Regions from separate parts of the Homo sapiens genome. Here region 1 is linked to region 2. Evidence: promoter capture Hi-C in 16 types of primary human blood cells and fetal thymus (Javierre and others, 2016). All regions are on one chromosome and are shown on one strand. The core of a region is centred on a gene start or on the middle of the fragment in contact, and the rest is flanking DNA. Distances in the headings are between cores, read along the strand shown.

Region 1 (7,539 bases), core at 424-2,923, 140 kb after region 2:
AGGCAAAACAGCAACAACAGCAACAATAACCAGTCCTCTGTTTTACTTTCTACACCCTCTAGTTGCCTAAATGTCTTCATATTACATACTGTGACAATTTAAAAAAGTTATCAAGAATAGTACTGTGTCCTCTTGTTTTCCTCATCAAGTATGTAACATAGGTTACCTGTCACATAAGAAACTGTGCTATTTGAGTTGCAAAATTTTGCACTTATTTCCAATCCCTCTCTCCTTAAGTTCCCGAATTTAATAGCCCATTAACTCTTTTCAGTTCTCTATTCCTATTATTTCCCATTTTCACATCTATTATCATAACCTTTATAAGCATATATTTTCCTTAACTTTAGGCATGTCTGAGAATCATTATCACTATCAGTGTTCTTATAGGTTTATAAAAAAAATTATTTTCCCCTAATACTATTATTATGATGCTTCTCAGATTTATAAGAATAACTATTGTTATTTAGTTTCTTCTTTTCCTGTTTTCATTTACTCATTCAATTTTCAGAGATTTGTTTCTTTTTATTTTTCCAATATTAAAAGAAGTAACAATTCACTGTGATTGAAATAACTAAAATATAAATTCACTTGGTTTTAAAAATCACCTGATTGTCCCTCTCACACATTCCTTTCTATTTGATCATGAAGACATAGGGAGAAAACTCTGAAGCAGAGTCCTTTTTCTTTCTTAAATAGCCTCAAATGTGTAACAATATGACTAGAGGATGAAAAAACAAAGAAAAGCAAGATATTGGGCCATTGTAATAAGGACGAGGTTGCAGGCCAAAAAATAAGATAAATGTGTGTTCAGGTGTAGAAAAGACCCTGGATCACACATTTCTCTTTCTGACATATGTGATTGTAATATTCTTGGTGTCTTAAAATACTGACCCCTTATTAAAATACAAAAAAATTATTTTCTTTAAAATATTAAATTACTTTAATATTACTTTAAAATATTGAAATTATTACTATACCTTTTCTCTATTATAATAGAAGATACTATCTATAATTAGAATCTAAAACCAATACATTGAAGGTATTTTACAAAGTTAGAACTCCTTTTCGTCTAATGTAAGATAAGAGCCTAAACTAAGAATAAGATCATCCCTTAAATCTTAAAAGAGGCAAGTTTAAGAGGGATAAAAGAATCACTACTATCCATACTCAGTGAAAGGTAAAATTATTAAACGAATACAATAGTTCCTGGTTCTACATTCAAATTAATTATTTCCAACTAATACATATATTGACAGGTAATAAAAAGCCTTTGTTAGATCCTGTATCTTGATTTTTGGCTTAATAACATGTCTGTAAACTAAAACAAAAATACACAAATTTGTGATTTCTACCAAACTCTTTCCCTAGAGCCTTTGCTGTAGCTTCCTCACAGGGGAAGAAGCAAAACATAAGCTTGCTTATTTTTAAATCACGAAGGTTTGCTGTTTCTTTTTTTTTTTTTTTAAAGTCACTATGATTTGTTGTAATTTTTACTGGAGCAGTAGGGGAAGAGGGTTATTATTTCTCTTTGTCTCCCTGCAGTGAATTAGGGTAAGGAAGGAATGTGGATCCCTCTGGGATAAAATGAAAAAGAAAGTAGGTGGGAATTATATGTGGGTCTACTCTATTTCCCTTAAGAAATATCGACCAATTCAAGTAACCAAGATCCAGACATGTATCATAGCACTGAGATCATGTGATGGCATTTAAATTTTAATAAAAATAAGATGAAACTAAACAAGTCAACAATAGTCTTCTGTTTTCAAGTATGTGTGATACGAAGTAGAAAAAAGAGGCTCATGAAGATAACTCAAATGGTGGACACAGCCATACCACTTGAATAACCAACAGATATAAATGGATATTATTTTTAAAAGAGAAGAAATAATGACCATCCCAAAAAGAAACATGCTGCAATAGTGAAAGACAGTGCTAAGCTTAAAAGTTCGAGAGAGACTATGTAGAGAAAAATGGATTTGCCTGGGTCAAGTGTCAATGAAGACTTACAGTACAGCAAACGTTGAAGTAACAGATGCCAGAATACAATAGAAACTCTCAGATCTGGAGGAAAAAGGCAAAAAGCCACCATCATCTTATTATCTCCTTGGCCCTGGTTCTTCTGGTGCAATATTCGCAAAATCAATTATGTTTCCTCAGACAGGCCTACTTTGAAAATGTATGCTTTTCACCTTTCATTCTAATACAATTTAATCTGGTTGCTTTTCTGAAGAGGAAAAGAGTATATAACTTCAAGAGCCTATAGTCTGGATGTCCCACCATCCTCCAGCCCTCACTGTTCAACAAAACAGCTTGAACCCCAATGCCTCCTCACTCACAACTTCCCCTCCCTATCTGTAGGTCTCCAGTCTATCTGGGCACAAAGGGATTGTATCACTGTCACTGCAGGTCCTCCACACCATGACCAACTTCCCTGAGCTCCCATAACACCCTCCTGCACAGTGCCCACCCTGCTGTCACTCCACAGATCATCATTAATGTGTAGTCATCAAGGGTAGAAGTCTTTTATGGACATTTTGGAGGTAAAAGATAGTAAAAATAGGAGAGAAAATTCCCTAAAACTGAACGCTAAGTAAGATAACTGTCCTCCAAATTCAAAGAAAACAAAAAAGGAATGTAAGCTTTTCAAAGGGATCCATTTCATCGGCAGAGCCTCATTCCTATGGCTATAGCTTTGTGTTATTACCTCTCCCTCTCTCCGGTCTTTCCTCTTCCATCTCTTAGTTTTGAGTACTCAAATCCTATACACACTTCCTCAGGACTCTCAACTGCACTCACCTTGACTATTCACAAGAGCAATTTATTTTTGCTGCTGCCTTATCCTACCAGATCAGCCCCAAGTACTATTCTTTTCACAGTCTCAATCCACTCATCAAAATGTCTTCCTAAATAGCATGAAACAGACACAATACAGGTATGCTGGATATGTTCTATTTGCCCCTGCAAAGTATGTATCTGCCCTACTCTACCCTGTTTTGTGCTTCAAAATGCTCACCACTATGGACTGTATCATTACGGTACTCTTACTGTTTGGTTTATGATAGAGAGGCACTAACAAATTGGAGGACAGGGAGAAGAAGGTCAGGGTATTTATTCTGAAGGCAGAAGTGGGTATATTCCTCTATTGAAGGCCACAGTTCCTGTTAGGCAGGCAGGCTTCTCTTATAGCTGCAGACCTCACTGAGTTCCAGTAACTACACTCAACCTTTGCCCCTGAAGTTTGGGGGGGACAGTGACTTCCAGATGTCACTAGTTCAAAATGCCCATCATCCCTTCTTGGTTTCTCTTAACCCTGCATACACCTTTGTAGACAGTCCTTTTTCTCTTTAGTCACCCCAGCTGAGTGTGCCATCCATTTTCTGCTAGGATCCTGGCTGATTCAGCAGGGAGAAAAAGAAACTAATTAAAAATTTAATTGATATCATCAGAGAATAAAATACTCATAATATAAGAACTGGCTGCTCAGAGAAAGTAACAATCTGAGAATACAAAAGAGTTATTGAAAGTTAAAAACATGGCTGCTAAATAAACATGTCAATAGAAGAACTGAATAATAGAACTGGGCTGAAGGGCAAATTTGTAATTTGGAAGATAAGTTCAGGGAACTCTCCAAGATATAAAGTAAAAAGACAAAAAAGAAACGGTATATGAAAAAAGGTTAAGATGAAGGTCTAACACTTAACTATTGGTCAAAAAAGGACAGACATAAGAGATATAATAGAGGAGAAGTAACAAAAGAGAGGATAGAAGAGTAATTTGAGATTCAATCTTTATATTGAAAAGACCCAAGCATAGTGGGGAGAAACATATTCTGACATACACCAGTGAAATTTCCTGGGCTTTTTTTTTTTTTTTTGAGGCAGAGCTTCACTCTTATTGCCCAGGCTGAAGTGCAGTGGTACGATCCTGGCTCACTGCAACCTCCGTCTCCTGGGTTCAAGCAATTCTCCTGCCTCTGCCTCCCAAGTAGCTGGGATTACAGGCACCTACCACCATGCCTAGCTAATTTTTTGTATTTTTAGTAGAGATGGGGTTTCATCATGTTGGCCAGGCTGGTCTGGAACTCCTGACCTCAGGTGATCCACCTGCCTCGGCCTCCCAAAGTGCTGGGATTACAGGTGTGAGCCACCGCGCCCAGCCGAAATTTCAAACTCTAAAGATAAATGAAAGCATCTTAAGTTCCCAGAATGTCCTTCTTCTTAGGAAAAACATGATAAAGTATTTTGGGGTGAAGTGTTTGTAACTTTCAAGAGGTTGAGCAAAAGGAGAGAAAAAAACAGAGAAGGCCATCGTGGCAAAATGTTAACAATACGTGACTCTAGGTGAAGGGTATATGGCATTTTCCATACTATTTTTTGAACTATTTGATAGGTTTAAAAAAAAAGTTGCGGAAAAAAGAAAAACAAGCCTCCTAGAGAGGGGTAAAATAAAACAAACAAACAAAAAAAAACACCAAGTTCCATGCTAAAAGAATAAGAATGAGACTGGCATAAGACTTCTCATTATAAACACCAGATGCTAGAAAATAATGGAATAATGCCTTCACAGTTATGAGAGAAAATGATTTTAACCTAATATTCAAATCAACTGTAACAAAATCTGAGGTAAAAGTAAAAACATCTTCAAATATTCATGGGCCAGAAAACTTAATTCCCACAAACTTTAATTTTTTTTTTTTAAGACTGGGTCTTGCTCTGCCACCCAGACTGGAGGGCAGTGATACAATCATAGCTCACTGTTACCTGGGACTCCTGGGTTCAAGTGATCCTCCCACCTCAGCATCCCAAGTAGCCAGGACCACAGCCGTGTACCACGACACATAGCTAATTTTTACTTTTTATTTTTTTGTTGAGATGGTGGGAGGGGGGGTCTCACTATGTTTCCCAGGCTGGTCTCAAACTCCTGGCCTCAAGAAATCCTCCTGCCTCAGCCTTCTAAAGTGCTGGGATTATAGTTGTGAGCCACTGCACCCAGCCTCCACAAACTCTTAAGAAAATTAATACTGAGCTTATGAAACTTAAAAAACATAGCAATGAATTACTTAAAAAATGTGATGAAACCACATCTTATTATCACGCTAATCCAAGCATTACATCACCTACTGCTGAAACAATGCAACAGCCCTTTAACTGGTCTTCATGCCTCCTTTGTTGTACCTATCCATGCCCCACACAAGAACCATCATTTTATTTTAATGTTCCATTTTATTTTTTTAAATGTAGGTAACAGATTCACATTGAACAAAATACTTTCACGTGATTTGAATGTAGGAAGTGCAAAAGAGCATTAAGTCTCTGAGACCCAGAGAGTGGGGCCCCTACACTTTAGAGGGCCTGCTGTGGACCTCCTCCAGCTGCACCCCTCTGAGAGATGAAGTCCACAGGACTAGGGCATGTGCCCACCCAGATTATGCTTCAGGTACTTGGAACCGTAGGAATCTCTACTCAAATGGGCTGAGCCAGCTCTCTGGGCCTACACATGGGTTGTCCTCCCTATGGCTGAACACAAGGCCCATGTACGCAACCTTAGGCTCAGAAAGTGGACAGGCAGCAGCTGTATGTGGGGTGTGCAGCAGCTGATGTGAGGGCAGGGTGTCTATCCTTCATAGTGTAGGGGTGGGTGGGATTGGGGTGGGAGAACAGCATAGACAGGCCACCGCCAGGGCCCACCAGTTGAAATGGGCTTATGAAAACGTATACAGTGAAAAGCCTTGGACTCATTCCTGTCCCCAGCCAATGGCTACTTTTTCCAAAGACAACTACTGTTTCTAATACAAGTTAATCACTTTAAATCAAAAATCTGAAAATGTAATCTCCAACCTAAAGGATTTTAGTGGTTCTCTATTACTGTTAAGATAAAATCCAAAATTCTTAAAGTGGTCAACATAGCATTTTTCAAACTATAACATTCATTAGAACCATTTGGGGATTCAAGTCTGATCCAGTAGAACTGGGGTGAGGCTTGAGATTCTGCATTTCCAATATCTTCCCTAAGTGATACTGATGCTGCTGACCCATAGGCTACACCTTGAGTAGTAAGAGCGTATAAGAAATTAATATTCCTTTTGAAGCTATGACTTCAGCTACCCAGGTAGGGAAGGACGTTTTCCTCCTGGTTTACCCATCTCATTTAAAGAGAAAAAGCTACAGTCAGTCCACACAGATGGGAGAGAGGGTGGGTAGAAACTGCCAAGTAATAATAATAGCTAACATTATTCATTCATTCAACAAACATTTGTTGGACAATGTATGTGATAGCATTGGTCTAGAGGGTCCAGCAATGAACAAGAAAAAGTCTCAGTCTTCCTGGAGCTTATAACCTACTAGGGCAGACAGAATAAATATATAAGTAAATAACGAGTTCAGGTCGTGTTTGGGGCAAAGAAGAAAAATAAATCAAGATAAGGATCTAGAGGGTAAGAAGAGGTGCTATTTTAGATAACTAAGGCATATACAAAGATAGTTTTTGTTTCTTTTTTTTTTTTTTTACCATACTAAGTTCTAAGACAGGCACAATGCTAAGTACCTTAAAGAGATGAAGGTCCTTTTATCTTCATTTTGCTGATGATAAACTGAAGCTCAGAGATGGTAAGTAACTTCCTCGAGGTTAGACAGGCAGAATCGGGATATGGACCCCGGCAGTCTAGGATCAATTTCTGTGTTAATATGTATTTCCTGTTCATGTTACATGAGGGCTGCAACTCTGCTGTGCTCAGCTGAGCTCCCTGTGTTTTCATATTCTGGAAGCCAGACTTAAACTTTTAACCTGTAAACTGCCAGGTGAGGGCCTGCCAGTTTAAGACCAGCATCATAAGAAACTCAAGTACAAATATTCACCAGACACACTGCAAGAATGTGTCTTGTACTCACTCAGCAGACTCAGAGGCACGAGCTAACATTTAGTCAACAAAAATTTCCCTTTGTTGGTTTAAAACTCCCCAGTTTCAATCACTTCAATTTTTCTCTAAAGTTTAAGGAAAATAAGTTTAACATGCAGCAGGTCACTCTCGTTTTAGCAATGGTTCTTAATCTTTTAAGATCACAATCTCTTTGAAAATCTGATAAAACACGGGCTCTCTCCCAAGAAAAATGCAAGTGAGTACACAGTTTTGCATGCAGCTTAAGGGGTTCAGACACCTAAAATAGCAATAATCCTCAATTTGAGAATGCTTACATTGTAGCATCTTCCAAAATAAATCTCTGCTCTGAAAACTTTCTTCTCCCTGGTGAAGGGAGTGATCCTCTTTTACTAATTACTTAATTTAATTAAAACACAGTTAACTCTTAATTATTAGCATTTCAAAAATACAGCTTTATCCTCTAACACAGTTCTGCAGCAAAAAAGAAAAAGGACCTAGCTAGCTGTTAAGAATTAATTATTTCAGCTTCCTGAAAGGCAAGTTTCAATGATAGGTTATCTATGTGTGAATTAGCCATAAATATTTTTATTGTATAGTGGGTGATTTCCCTTCTATAGTCAGTAGTTTACAACAAGTATGTTGTTGAATATAACTCCAGTCCT
Region 2 (6,741 bases), core at 170-2,669:
TTTGAGGCTTACATAATTCAATGTGAGCTGGGTAGCTTTGCCAAGTCTCCAGGTGTTTTCCCTGACTGAGGGTGGTACCTGTTATGATCAAATAATTTGGGGAACATGGAAAGAAGCTTTCTCAGAAAAGTGAGCACCAGAAAGTTGTCAAGTGTAGCTCAGTCATTTTTCAGTAGTAGATTGGTAACCAGAAGCAAAATGGAATGTTTCTTCCTGGGTATTTACCAAAACCTTAGGTCCCCTTTTGTCCTAAACATCACCTAACAATTGCTAATAAGCAAGGAAACTTACATTTGTATTAGTCCTCTTTGTGGATTATCAGTGTCATTTTCTTCTCTTTTTTCTTCTTCCTATGGGCTGCCTTCAGGATTGCAAGTCCCACAGGATTGCAAGTTAAGAGATGGGGGAAAAGATAGGAATTAAAACTTGTGTTTTTCAGTGTGCTATTTCTTGGTGAAATGCTACTTAAGAGGTTGAGAATTTCTCTACTAAGTCCTTTAGAGACTAAACAAGACTTTTTTTAAGTAAGGGATTTGAGGTGGTTTGAAAGATTATATACAATAAAAAAGAAAAATGTGTGTTTAAGTTTGTGCATTTATAGATAATATAAATTAGAATAGAAAGTTAAGAAAGAAATGGATGCACACCTCCAAGCATGAAGCTTGGGCTTTGGTTAACTCCTGCTTTGGGGGAGGGCCCAGTGGGTGGGCTTTTCTTGAGGGTGGGAAATAAAGACCCTGCTGTAGAGCACAGAACTCATTGATAATTTTCACAGATTTATCTCTGTTCAACTGAGAGTTCTTGTTTTCTTTTTTTTAATTTTCACTTGTATATAATGAATTCAAAAGTAGGAGCAAAATTCAGTTAAATGGGTTGACTTGGAACTTGCCTTTACTGTGACCACATGATTTAGCTAGACTCTCCTCCCCACACCCTTTTTTTTTTTTTTTTCCTGCATTTTTTCCAGAAAAGGCCACTGGTCTGAGCATTCAGGGCCCCACCATCATCCCACAGTGAGATTGGTGGCTCTCAGAGGTTGGTGACAAGTCTCTCAAGATACAGGGCCTTCAGAGCTGCATCTGCGTGGTGGCCTTTTCCTGATCCTTCTCCCTCAGGGTTTTAGGCCCTGGTTCACCCAGGCCTCTGCTAAGCTCCCGCACTTTCTTGCCAGAGGTGTCTTAAAGGGAAAAACCTCTCTTTTGTCGCTCCTGTCCCTTCTTTCTTTCTTCCCCCTCCTCATTCCCCTCCTCCTTCCCCTTCTCATTCACTCTTCCAGCCCTCCAGTAGCTGAACATTTAAGAGCTTTTTATGAGCACATTTGTTGTCCTCTGAATAGAAAGAGGAATAAGAAGTGGTTTGTACCCTAGAGGAGCTCACCATGGGAGAGAAGATGCCTGAAGACAAGTGACAATGCTTCTGTGATGGGGGTTGTAGAGGCAGGAACAGGATGCTTTGGTAACACGGAAGAGGAAGGAGAGGAAGTGACTGATCAGCCTCGGAAAGGACTTCACAGAGAAGTTATCTTGAGCTGGGTTTTGAAAAATGAGCAGGAGGCCGGGCGCGGTGGATCATGTCTGTGATCCCAGCACTTTGGGAGGCCGAGGCGGGCGGATCACTTGAGGTCAGGAGTTCAAGACCAGCCTGGCCAACATGGCAAAACCCTGTCTCTACTAAAAATACAAAAATTAGCAGGGTGTGGTGGTGCTTGCCTGTAATCCCAGCTACTCGGGAGGCTGAGGCAGGAGAATCGCTTGAACCCAGGAGGCGGAGGTTGCAGTGAGCCGAGATCGAGACTCTGTCTCGAAAAAGAAAAAAGAAAAAAATGAGCAGGAGATGGCCCGGGGGAGAAGGGGTGGCAAAGTGTAATCGAGGGCACTCTGGGCGGAGGAAGCCGCCTATTCAAAGGCATGGCGTCATGAAGGGTTGAGGACCTCATGTGGTGCAGAGTCTGAAAGATGGCCAGGGTGGTGCCGAGGCAAAGGAGATGAGTTTGGAGGGATAAACCACACTTCAGAGACTGAGGAACCTTTAGGCTATGGGTGCTACTGGCTGGGCCGGAAGTCGCAGGAGGCCTTTGAGCAGGGAAGGCGGAGCTTTGAGATGCCCCCTCTGGCAGCAGTGAGCAGCTATGGGGGCAAACTGTGGAAGGAGCCCATCCAGGGGGCTGTAGAGTTTGGGTAAGAGATGAAGTGAGCTTAAACTGAACCAGTGACGCTGGTGATGGAGAGAAGGGGTGAACGTGTGACCAGTCAGGTGGGGAAAGGGGTGGGGCCCGGGAGTTTAGGAGCTTGGGAAGGAGCTGCTGTCAGAAATGAGATAGGCTAGAGAACAAATACACAGAGGCTGGTCCCCTTCCAGAGAGTTCATTTTTCTTTCATCCGTTATTTTTTATTCTGTGATGGATGGGGGTTATAGAGGCAGGAACAGGATGCTTTGTTAACACGGAAGAGGAAGCGACTGATCGGCCTCTGAAAGGTCTTAAACATAGACAAGTTAGCCTGAGCTGGGTAACTACAGAGTCCATTTTTCTTTCATCCATTATTTTTTACTCCTCTGCTTTCAAAAAAAATCTTAAAATCTGTCTACCTCAGAGATATTGTCTGCTTAGCCCATGGTGTTCTGATATCCCAGTCTTTCCTTTGTAGATGTCCACCCCTTCATTCATTCCATTAATAAATGCCTATTGAGCGCCCACCATGTACCAGGCACTGGACTTGGAGCTGGATGTACAATGGTGAAAAGGATGAACAAGGTTTATGCCTTCACTGAAGCGTCTAGTCTGGAGGAGTAGACAGATAGTAAACCATAATATTAAATAACCTAGCATTAAGTAGAGTTTATGGGGGCATATATGGTATGAGATGAAGCTTGACGGGTTGAGAAGGAACAGATCTGTTGAGCCTTGTAGACCATGGTCAGGGAACTGAATATTATCCTGGGAGCTATGGACAAAAAGCCAATATGGCTTGGAGTAACAGAAAGCAGAAAGGCAGGATTCTGGGATATCTCTGCTTGAGCAACTAGGTTGATGGTGTCATCTATTGAGCTATTGCTGTGTATTTTTCAAATGTATGGTATATGTTTCATGCATGTTATTTCTACCAGCACCACAAATGACAAATTTGGAAATACGTGAGGTATTGTATATTACTCAACTGTGTGTATCACGTGCAGTAAATGGGTAGGAATTTCAATCAAATGACATGTCACATATAAATGTGGGCTTTCTCTCCTGACTTGGGTTATTTATGAAAGTTATGTATGTGGGGCAGAAGAAACTTGAGCTGTCTAAACTTTTGCTAATGAGGTGAGAATAAGGCCTGAGAAGGAGAAAAAATTGAGATTGAAACAAGAAAATAAAAGCTCCTAAGGAAACTATGGTCCTTTCTGCTGGCAATGTCCCTTGCCAGAGCTTAGATGTGGGGAGCGTGAAGATGACTATGGATTGGGATGTCCCATCTTTGATGCCTTGGGGACCAGGGAAAAGGAACTGTTGGTGTGCAGTGACTGGAATGGGTATTTCATGGTTTCCCATGATGTCTGTCTGCATGGGAGTTACACAGGCATCTGTACTCTTCCGTCTCCATGGAAGAGAGTTTTGAGGCATCCTCTGAATTAATGTAAACCAGTAGTGCTCCGGTGCCTGGGCTGTCTCAGGAGAACAGGTGGAAACGGGGTCAGATGATGAGAATTTTCCATTTTATGACAGCAATGGAATTCCTAGAATGGTTCATTAGTCTTCACAAAAGATCTATTCCTGGCTGGGCGCAGTGGCTCACCCCTGTAATCCCAGCGCTTTGGGAGGCTGAGGTGCTTGGATCACTTGAGGCCAGGAGTTTGAGACCAGCCTGGCCAACATGGCGAAACCTTGTCTTTACTAAAAATACAAAAATTAGCCAGACATGGTGGCACGCACCTGTAATTCCAGCTACTTGGGAGGCTGAGGCACGACAATTGCTTGAATGGGGGAGGCAGAGGTTGCAGTGAGCTGAGATCCTGTCACTGAACTCCAGCCTGGATGACAAAGAGAGACTCTGTCTCCAAAAAAAAAAAGTCCATTCCTTAGCTTAGAAGAAGACTACATTGTGACATTGTTTAGATCTATGGAGTTAAGTGGAATACTCAAGTAGTTTGTTTCACTTCCAATGTTTGGGATACTGAAACTTTCAGGGAAGAATTTACAGAATCATTGTATAATTGAATTGATTACAAAAGACATGTACACATTTATTTGAAGCTTTTTTTTTTTTTTTTACATTTTCTGTGTTTTCAGGGTAGTCAGTTATATTTTAATGTATCTTTTTGTTGCTGTTGTTATAAGGAAAAACTAATCATGTCATCTTAAAAATTGTTTTTAAAAGTTTATATACTATGGCTGTAAGGATGCTTTATGTTTACATGATGCTTTACAGTATTAGATAAGTAATAAAAACAGTGCTACATGTTTCCATTTGCTACACACAACCCCCCGAGAGGTGAGCAGTGCTTGTCATCTGCTTTTCACAGATGAGGAAATGGGGAAGTGGAGGAAGGAGTGGCTGCCCCTGGGCACTTCACTAGGAAGAGATGATGGCAGCGATGCCATTCACACATCTTATCTCATAGAATCCTCACAACTGCTAGGGAAGTATCATCACCTCTACTTTATTGAATGAGAAAAATGAGCTCTGGGAGGTTAAATAACTAACCCAGGCTGATGGGTGGTGAGGCTGAACTGGCTCTTAACCAGTAGCTTTCCTGTAGTGTCCCACAAGGAAGGAGCACACTGCATATTAAAATTATTAGATAACAACATTAGTTTTATGATTTACTAAACTCTTCTCTTCTTGACTCTTTGACGAAGGTAAAGTAGATAGCTTTCCTGAATTTTTTTTTTAATAAAATAAGACAAATTTGTGAGATCTTAATACTTGTCTCTTGGGAGAGAATGAGACTAAAGATCTTAAATATTCCTTGGCCACATCATTCATTATCTGATGCTATTTATAAAAGCATAGAACAATCAGACAAGAATACCTATAAAATTAAAAAAAAAAAAGAAAGAAAAACATAGAACAAGAAGTTTCTAATCTGCAGAACTGATGTGGCTATCACAGGGCCAGCTGAAGATCTTAGGAGTGTTAGCAAACCTAGATGATGGTTTGTTTAACCCTGGGTTTGGGGTATACCAATTGCTTACTAAGATTAATATTTCATTCTTTACCTTTCAACCAAATTAGGCTTTCTTTGTTTTCATTTGTTGCTACTTGTGCCTAGGCTCACATTCCCTGGTGGGAGATGCATAGCGGGAGCTTTGCTTAGCTACTGATATAAGGAAATTTATGAAATGAATTGTACTATGCTGTTTCGTGTGGTTATATTTTTTCAGTTCAAAAAAAATGGCACAAGCATGCTTTTATCCTAGGTGACTGCTACATTGAGAAACTTGGTTGATTCATCATTAGTAAGAAGTAAGTTCCTAAACATCAGTGCCCTTCCCCAGCTCTGCACGGCAATGGAACAGTACAAGGGTGACAAGGACGTCTGTACCAATATTGCCAGAATATTCAGGTAGGTAGACTAAGACGTGAAGTAGCCTTACAAAAATGCTAATGCTTAGATTTGGGGTTATCTTTAATATTTGCTTGTGTGACTGGCAAGGAATCCTTTTCCTTCTTTTTACTTCGCCTACCAGAAAGGGTAAATCTAGTGGCCCAAGTTAAAAATGAACAATTCAAACAAATGAACCCATTGTCTATATGATTCTATTGTGATTCTAAACTCATTGGTTGTTAAGTCATTTTAGTTCTTTGGTGAGTTGTGAGCTACGTGTGTGTGTTTAATCTTCCTCTCAGCTTATTTGAGATAAAAAACTGTATACAAAACACAGCAAACCTTCCAGTTTGCTAGGAAATAAACAAGAGTTTTAACTCAAAAAAGGGGATCAATGCTTAGAAAGTCTGATGTGACTTTGTAATAGAAGGTTATTCTATTTCAGCTATTTGAACTTTGGCTCAAGCTTTCACTAGTCAAGTCTACACTTACTTTATTTCTTCCAGAAATAATGATCATTTGAATCCAGGTTGCCTCCAAGCAAGATGTTGTTAAATTTCAGAACTGTCTTTGAATTATGCATTTCTGTTTCCTCCCGCGCTGCTCTTTGTCAGTATTTTTACATAATGATTCTTCTCGGGAGCCTGAGGCTTTTCTTGAACTATAATGTTGTAGTTGTAAAGAAATGCAAAATTTCCTGAAGACTGAATTGGTACTTGACCCCAGGACCCCTGTATAAGGATGTGAGTCCAAATCTGATTTTTTTTTAAATGAATGTCAACTTGTATTATAGATTAAATGGTACACAGGTTTGTTACGTGGGTAAATTGTATGACGTGGAGGCTTGGGGTCTCGACAATCATGTTACCCAGGCAGTAAGCATAGTACCCAACAGGTGGTTCTTCAGCCCCAGCCCCCTCCTTCCCTCCAGATCTGATCTTTTTATACTGCACTTCCCTGAGCTTTGTTCTGGATACCTAATTACTACCTATCTAATGCATTGTAGAATCATAAGGAATTTATTTTTGTTTATAGTGTCATGTAGGGGTCCAACTTCATATTTTTCCCATGTGGATAGTTGATTGTTCCAGCACCTTTTACTGACTATGCCATCCTTTCTCACTGATTTTGTCAATCAGACAGAAAGTTCCATATAATTTCAGGTTTGTTTCTGGGCATTCTGTTTGGTTTATCCTCAGACCTGTACCA

The links. Contacts are between HindIII fragments. The CHiCAGO score rates a contact against its expected background, and 5 or more counts as called.
Region 1: a contact is called between a fragment that was not itself captured here and the fragment with the promoter of ARMC2-AS1 in region 2, in 1 of 17 cell types (megakaryocytes). The highest score is 6.9, in megakaryocytes.

The regions. Positions count from the first base shown.
Region 1 is chr6:109,064,864-109,072,402 of GRCh38, forward strand. All of the region lies in intron 1 of SESN1 (sestrin 1), which reads right to left. Among named protein-coding and RNA genes, the nearest start is that of SESN1, 26 kb to the right of the region's middle. The HindIII fragment of the contact is 524 bases long and covers 1,412-1,935 here.
Region 2 is chr6:108,922,684-108,929,424 of GRCh38, forward strand. ARMC2-AS1 (ARMC2 antisense RNA 1) reads right to left here and starts at 1,420. Exons shown (of 3, transcript NR_104137.1): 1 at 1,378-1,420; 2 at 292-361. It overlaps ARMC2 (armadillo repeat containing 2), which reads left to right. Exons shown (of 18, transcript NM_032131.6): 11 at 5,405-5,550. The HindIII fragment of the contact is 2,206 bases long and covers 660-2,865 here.